2 separate regions of the Homo sapiens genome follow, and region 1 is linked to region 2. The links are contacts of gene promoters, found by promoter capture Hi-C in human tissues and cell types (Jung and others, 2019). All regions are on one chromosome and are shown on one strand. Each heading gives the region's core, a stretch centred on a gene start or on the middle of the fragment in contact. The rest is flanking DNA. Distances are from core to core; before and after follow the strand shown. Region 1 overlaps STRBP (spermatid perinuclear RNA binding protein). Region 2 holds the start of CRB2 (crumbs cell polarity complex component 2).

Region 1 (3,614 bases), core at 54-2,553, 160 kb before region 2:
GCCATAACCACAGAATCTAAGGAGGTTCCATCCAAAAGGTCACCATCTCTTCCCATTATTTCCATGGCAGTCATCACCACAGTGACTAACAGGGAATTTCTGACTCGTCCTCCATAAGCACAAATTCCATTACTTATTTGACTTCTCCATCTTGGATTAATCCCCCAAACCCTATCCCATTCCTTCAGGACTTTAGTGCTGTACTTAGCTCAGTGACACACTCAACTTTACTTCTGGCATAAATATTAGAATTTTAATAACCGCAGAGATGACCCTTCTAAAATTCAGGCTTCTCCAGTCCTTGTATTCCTTTCCTCCAATGTTCTCATCTTCTTTCCTATTTTAGACAAACACGCCCCACCGGGACCTACAATCGCTAATGCTACCACTTTTCACAGTCCCTCATCCTTTTCATGCCCTCATTTCTGTCCTTATCCAACCGAAATTACGTGATCCATCATTTATCATTCATACCAGCAACTGCTTCTCTTTCCTTCTCCTAGCAAAACTCTAACCCTGTTAAATCCAAGCCTCTTGGCCACACCACATCATTAACCATGTACCATTAAATATAACTAAGAAAAAAAAGTATCACATAATCATGCTAATTAGTCTTTTTCATGACCATTAGCCTCAAAAGGCCCAATAATCAATAGTTCTAAAGGGATGTGAAAATGTGAAGTCAAGTTTTTTTAGTTGTAAGAATGACTAGGTAGGTAATCCTGGCATTTGGGACCCTGGAATGCAAAATATCCTGCCGTGTCCAAGATCTGTCCCACCTAAAATGCAAGTAGGAGCCTCAATGAAAAAGTTAAATGTTCATTCACTTCCTCACTCTCCTAATGATTTTCTCACACTTCTCTTGTCTCTTCAAACATCTATACTCTTACCTCTTCATATTCAACAGGTCACCCTGCTTCCTACTTCATGCAAATTGCCAACCTTGCTGCATCATTAACCATATATTCTTCCTTCCTGTTATTATAAATGAACTGTCCCCATTCCTATCTAATGCAAATTCCTGAACTCAAACTCTACTGGATCCCACCTCCTTTTGCCTACTTGGGATGTCACTCAGTAATCATCCCCTCTTCTCTCTTTCCTCTCCTGTATCATCCATTTTACCCATTCTACTGAGTCATTTCTATCAGCATTCCCACATGTTGTAATAGCACCCATCAATAAAAATAAAAAGGGAAAAAACATTAAAAACCATCCTTGACCTCTTGCTTTGCTACAGCTACTAGCCCAATTCTCTGCTCTCATTCTAGAGCATAACTGAGTTTACACTTTGGGTTTTTATTTCCTCTCCTTCCATTCTCTCTTAAAACCATCCCAATCAGCCTCTCATCCCAATGCTCCATCAAAACAGCTCTTGTCAAGGTCCCCTAGGATTTCCATGGTATTTAATGCTGTGAATAATTCTCAGTCCTCCTCTTAGTTGACTTCTCAGCAACAGTTGACACAGTTGACTGTTCCCTACACTTTACTCCCCTTGGCTTCCATCTAAGACACCACTCTCTTAGTTCTCCTCCTACTTTATAAATTACTCCCTTGTATCCTTTTCTTCTTTATCTCCACAACCTCTAAACGCTGAAGTGCCTCAAGACTCAGCCCTCAGACTTCATCTCTTCTCTATCTTACCTTCAACATTCCCTTGGCAATGTTATCTAGGTTTGAGACTTTAAATACCATCTATATACTGAGGATCTCCCAAATTCATATGGACCTGAGTTCCAAATTCACATTCAAATAAATAATCAACACATCCACTTGGATGTTTAATAAGCATCTTAAACCTAATGCATCAAAAACAAAAAACAAAACAAAACAAAACAAAAAACCACACAAGTTTGCTCCTCCTGGTCTTCCCTCCCTCAAGAGAAGGCAACTACTTCATCCCTTTAATTGTTCATGCCAAAAACTTGAAAGTCATCCCTGACTCCTTTCTTCCTCCCACATCTCACATCTGATCCATCATTAAATCCTGTTACCTATACCTTACAACACTATCTAAAATCTGACTATTGGGAAGTCCTAGCTAAAATAATCAGACAAGAGAATGAAATAAGGAGCATTCAAATTGGAAAGAAGCCAAATTATCCTTATTTGCAGATAATATGATCTCATATTTGCAAAAACCTGAAAACTGCACCAAAAAAACTATTAGAACTGACAAACAAATTCAGTAAAGTTGCAGGATACAAAATCAACATACAAAAATCAGTAGCATTTCTATATGCCAACAGCAAACACTCTGAAAGAAATCAAGAAAATAATCCCATTTATAATGGCTGTGAATAAAACTAAATACCTAGGACTAAACGTAGCCAAAGAAGTGAAAGATCTCTACAATGAAAACTATAAAGTGCTGATGGAAGAAATTGAAGAGGACACAAAAAAATTGAAAAGATATTCTATATTCATGGATTGGAAGCGTCAATATTGTTAAAATGTCCATACCATCCAAAGCAATCTACAGGTTCAATGCAATCTCTGCTAAAATACTAATGACAGTCTTCACAGAAATAGAAAAAAATAAAATCCTAAAATTTACACAGTACCACCAAAGACCCAGACTAGCCAAAACTATCGTGAGTAAAAAGAACAAAACTGGAGGAATTACATTATCTGACTTCAAATTATATGACAGAGCTGTTGTAACAAAAACAGCATAGTGCTGGCATAAAAACAGACACATGCTGATATAAAAACAGACACAAAGACCAATGGAACATAATAGAGAACCCAGAAGTAAATCCATACATCTCCAGTGGATATTCATTTGTGACAAAGGTTCAAAGAACATACACTATGGAAAGGACAGGGTCTTCAATAAATGGTGCTGGGAAAACTGGATATCCATATGCGAAAGAAGGAAATTAGACCCCTATCTTTCATCATATACAAAAATCAAATCAAAGTGGATTAAAGAATTAATCTAAGGCCTGAAACTATAAAACTACTAAAAGAAAACATTGAGAAACTATCCAGGACATTGGACTGGGCAATGCTGTATTGAGTAATGCCCCACAGCAAAGGCCACCAAGGCAAAAATGGACAAATGGTATCACATCAAGTTGAAAAGCTTCTGCAAAGCAAAGGAAACAATCAACAAAGTAAAGAGACAACCCAAAGAATGGAAGAAAATAGTTCCATTAGATGCAAACTATCCATCTGACAACAGATTAATAACCAAAATATACAGGGAGCTCAAACAACTCAATAGGAAAAAAAAATCTAATAACCCAATTAAAAAATGGACAAAAAATTTGAATAGGTACTTCTCAAAAGAAGGCATACTAATGGCAAACAGGTGTATGAAATGGTACTCAACATCACTGATCATCAGAGAAATGCAAATCAAAACTATAATGCGATATAATCTTATCCCAGTTAAAATGGCTTTTATCCAAAAAGCAGGCAATAACAAATGCTGGCAAAGATATATAGAAAAGGAAACCCTTGTATACTGTTGGTAGGAATGTAAATTAGTTCAACCAGTTTGGAGAACAGTTTGAAGGTTCCTCAAAAAACTAAACATGGAACTACTATATGATTCAGCAATCTCACGGCTAGGTATATACCCAAAAGAAAAGAAATCAGTACATCGA
Region 2 (3,897 bases), core at 267-2,766:
ATGGACTGAGAGAGGTTAGTGTCCCAGAAACCAAGGGGCAATCCCTGCCCTGGAGAGAACAGGCCTCAAGGGCAGGGATGGGGCAGGGGCAGTGGATAAGGAGTCTACCCAGGCCTTTTTGGGTTCCCTCCTTTGGTCCCTGGGGACCCAGGGCTGTGGCACTTGCCCCGGGCTAGAGGGTCGGCCAGGGCCTGTGTGGTGCCCACTGCTCCCTCCCCTGCACTGCAGGGGACCCTTGCCCATCCCTCTAGCTCATCTGGACCTCCCTCAATGGCTCCTGCTGTCTTTCCAGGCTGTGTCCTCCCGTGTCAGGGACACATCCCAGAGCCCAGGGCCTGCGTGGGCTGTATCCACGGTTACTGAATAGGGACAAACAGGCATGTATTGGCAGGGGCCGGTGGCTCATTTCAGGAAAGTCCCTTCAGCAAGAGGATTCTCTCCCCACTGGGGCTGAGGGTGGTAGAAGAAAGGAATGTTGTTCTATGTTGTAGTGTCTCTGAGATGACCTGGCTTCCTGAACCAGGTCCCCCTGAAGAGCTCCTCCTGTCCACCCCAACAAGAGGCCAGCTGGAGAGCAAGCAAACATCGAGTGCAGCAGGAGACTATAAGGTTAGACAACAAGAAGGACTTCCTGGCAGGGGAGAGCAATGCTTGCTTGGTTAGAGCTGCCTTTCAGTAGAATGGGCTGCTTTGGATTGCAGTGAGGTCGCTGGAGTTGCAAACAGCAGAGCCAGAGATCAAGGTCAAGTGGAAGAAAGCTGGGAAAGGTTCAGTTTGGCTGGTGAAGGGTGGAGAGGGTAAAGGGAGGCAGGGACCACCGTGGTGCAGGGGTGAGGTGCCCTGCAGGGAGCTGATCCTGAGGCCGATGGTGGGAGGAGCTGTGTGTGGTCGGGTGGGACGGGGTGGGGACAGCAGGAGACACTGAGAAGGTGGCATGGCCAGGAGCTAGGGGCTGACCGAGTGTGGGGAGGGGGGAGTGGGGAGGGGGCGTTGGGCTGCCCGATGGGAGGTGCCTTGGCTCCGATGGGAGCACTGGGGAGCAGCAGGTGGGGGGACGAGCTGGGTGGGAGGGGCTGCAGCTTCCCAGCAGAGACAGGGTCTGGGAGGCGACTGGACTCGAAGGCCTGGGCTTGGGAGAGAGGCCCGGGCTGGAGAGGTGGGGAGGGGGATCCAGGAGAGGGGATAACTAAGGACTTGGGAGTAGCTGGCATCACCTGGTGAGACGAGAGTCCTGAACAGCCCCCTCTCCAAGGACAGAAATTTCTCCAAGGAGGCTGACCTGAGAGGTGGGAGGAGAGTGGGGCAGAGGGTCAGGAGGGAGAAACCAGTGGGTGCCAAGACCAGGTCAGCCCCACAGGCTAGGGGGCTTGAGGACTTGGGGCTGATGTCTAGGGACGTCCACGAGGTGGAGCAGCCCAGGAGGCCTGGGTGGGAGGAGGAGGCGGTGGCGGGGAGGGGAGGGAGGGGCTGGGCCTCTGTCCACAGCATTAGTGCTGGTTGGAGGGACGAGGGGGGTGCGGAGCCAGCCAGGCCGCCCTCCCGTTCTCACAGCAGCCGAGCAGAGCGCAGAGCGGGCTGCCATGGCGCTGGCCAGGCCTGGGACCCCGGACCCCCAGGCCCTGGCCTCTGTCCTGCTACTGCTGCTCTGGGCCCCTGCCCTTTCCCTCCTGGCTGGTGAGTTGGGGCCCATGTCTGGAGGGGCCTGGGAGAGGGTCTGTCCCCCAAGACAGATACCCCAAGCCTTGGCTGCTGGGGTGGTGGGTGGGCTGGTCCGCGTGGGTGCAGGCCTGAGCTGTGGGGTGCACAGGAGTGCGCGGCTGTGGCCCCCAGACTCTGTGGGGCTCCACGGAGGTGAGTGTGTTCTGAGGCTCGGGGCTGTTTCATGTTGAGGGGGGTTGTAAGTTTCGGGGTTGGGGGATCGGGGGCTGGGCATGATTTGGGGGAGCTGATGCGGGTGAGGGATGGGGTGCGTGTTTTGGGAGGTGCTGTGTTGCATCCTGTAAAGGGCTGGGGGACTTCTGGGTTTCTAGGGGCTGAGTTTGGGGAGTTGCAGGTGGCATAAGCCTCACCCCAGAGCTTGTTCTGTGTCGCATGCTGGGTTGTGGGGCACAGGTTGTGGGTGTGTTAGAGTTGGGAGGTGGATGAGCTGTCTGGGGTGAGCCGTGAGTTGTGTCCGAGGAGTTGGGTGTGGTGAGCTGTGTCCTAGCACACGCTGTGGGGTGTAGGTTGTCCAGGGTTGAACTAGGTCTTTGCTCTCAACATGAGGGGTGTGGGATGTGCACAGCCGACCCCAACTCGGGACTGAGTGGAGAAGCGTGAGGGAGACTCAGGGAGCTGGGTGCCTGCCCGCACCCCTCCATTTGTGCGGTAGCCCTGCCTGTGCTGAGGGCTGCTGGGGATGCTCTGGGTCCCTGTGGGGTGGCTGGGGATTTGGGAACATGTGTGTGTCCCCTGCTGCCCCCTCCCCAGCATTCCAAGGCCAATCTGAAAGGGCTCCCTGAAGCCAGACCACATTTGCCAAGCCCTTTTTGCTTTTGTCCAAGCTCTCGGAGCCTGGAATTCCTCCTGGGGGGTCCAAGGGAACGCTTGGTGTTAGTTACTATAGTTACAGGGGCCGGGCCTGGGAAGTCCCCTGCCCCCACCACCACAGGCTGGGGAGGGAGCCAAGGAGGGCCTGGGCTCTCCTGAGGCTGGGGGAGCCCTCCCTGCCCCAGAGCTCCACAGGCTGTAGGGTGTGGGGGCCAAGTGTCTCCCAGTCCCACCTGGGGACCCTCATGTTTCCCGCACTCACAAAGCTTTCATTTCCTATCCTCTCTATGGGGCCCTAGGGAGGATGAGGACCCCATTTTGCAGTGAAGGAAACCAAGGCTCAGAGAGGGACGGGGACTTATGAGCTGGGCTCTGCTGGCAGGCGACTTGGGCTCCATAGAGGGGTGGGGCATGGTGGCGGGGGGCGGGGTGGCTGCTCCTCTCTGTTCTCTGCATACAAAGCACGTGAGATCCCGGTCTGTGGATCGGTGCTCTGTCCCCTGCCCTGTGATGCTCACACACCCACACTCCGCACACCTGTGTGGCATGCCCAAGGGCACACAGCACCACAGGGACAGGTGCTACAGACACATGTGGATCTACCAGCACATGCACCTACCTACACACATGGCATGTGCCTGCACACCAATGTGCACACCCCAACACGCACATGTGGACATGTGTGCATTCACACTCAGTGTGCACTCACAGGGGACCTGGAGGCACAGAGTGGATGGAGGCTGTGGGGGGTCTGGACACTGGTGTGTACACTCAACCCATCAGGCCTGCTGGGTTGCCCAGGGGCAGCCTTTCCTCTGCCATTTCTGTGCTGGGAGCGCCATCCCTGGGGATCCCTAAAAGTTGGTGGGGTACACTGCAGGCATGACCATTTCTGCATGCTGGTACCCTAGACTGCCTGCCGGGAGGGGAGGGATTGGGGATTTTGTCACTTGAAAACCAATTTCCATCCTGGAGGGGATGGGGGCTTCTGGAGGCCATGGGCCCCTGGCTTTTCTCCCCACCCCTGCCAGGCCCTGAGCTGGGCCTCTCCATCCTGGGCCCAATTTGCCACAAAGGCCCGGCTGGTTGCCATGGAGAGGACCAAGCATCTTGGAGTACAATGGGGCACGTTGGGCTCTCATATCCACCCTCCCTTCCCCAAACACCCAGGGAGCCCAGCAGACAAAGGGGCAGTGAGTCCAGGCCCCAAGTCCGGCCCCTCCTCCAGCCAGAAGGGGGTGGGGGCCTGCAGGACAGAAGCAGAGATGGAGCAGAAAGCCACACACATTCAACCCAATGTCAGGATCCTTTGGACAGTGGGTGTCTGCCTCAAGTAAAGAATTGTTAATGAGTAAGATCAGCCACTCC

What was found. Contacts are between HindIII fragments. The study calls those that stand out against the background at their distance.
Region 1: a contact is called between a fragment that was not itself captured here and the fragment with the promoter of CRB2 in region 2, in 3 of the 25 tissues and cell types used here (aorta, mesendoderm cells and thymus).

The regions. Positions count from the first base shown.
Region 1 is chr9:123,193,306-123,196,919 of GRCh38, forward strand. The region is part of intron 2 of STRBP (spermatid perinuclear RNA binding protein); the gene reads right to left. Among named protein-coding and RNA genes, the nearest start is that of STRBP, 73 kb to the right of the region's middle. The HindIII fragment of the contact is 5,762 bases long and covers 1-3,614 here.
Region 2 is chr9:123,354,681-123,358,577 of GRCh38, forward strand. CRB2 (crumbs cell polarity complex component 2) reads left to right here and starts at 1,517. Exons shown (of 13, transcript NM_173689.7): 1 at 1,517-1,674. The coding sequence starts at 1,581. RefSeq lists an enhancer at 3,198-3,865. The HindIII fragment of the contact is 16,000 bases long and covers 1-3,752 here.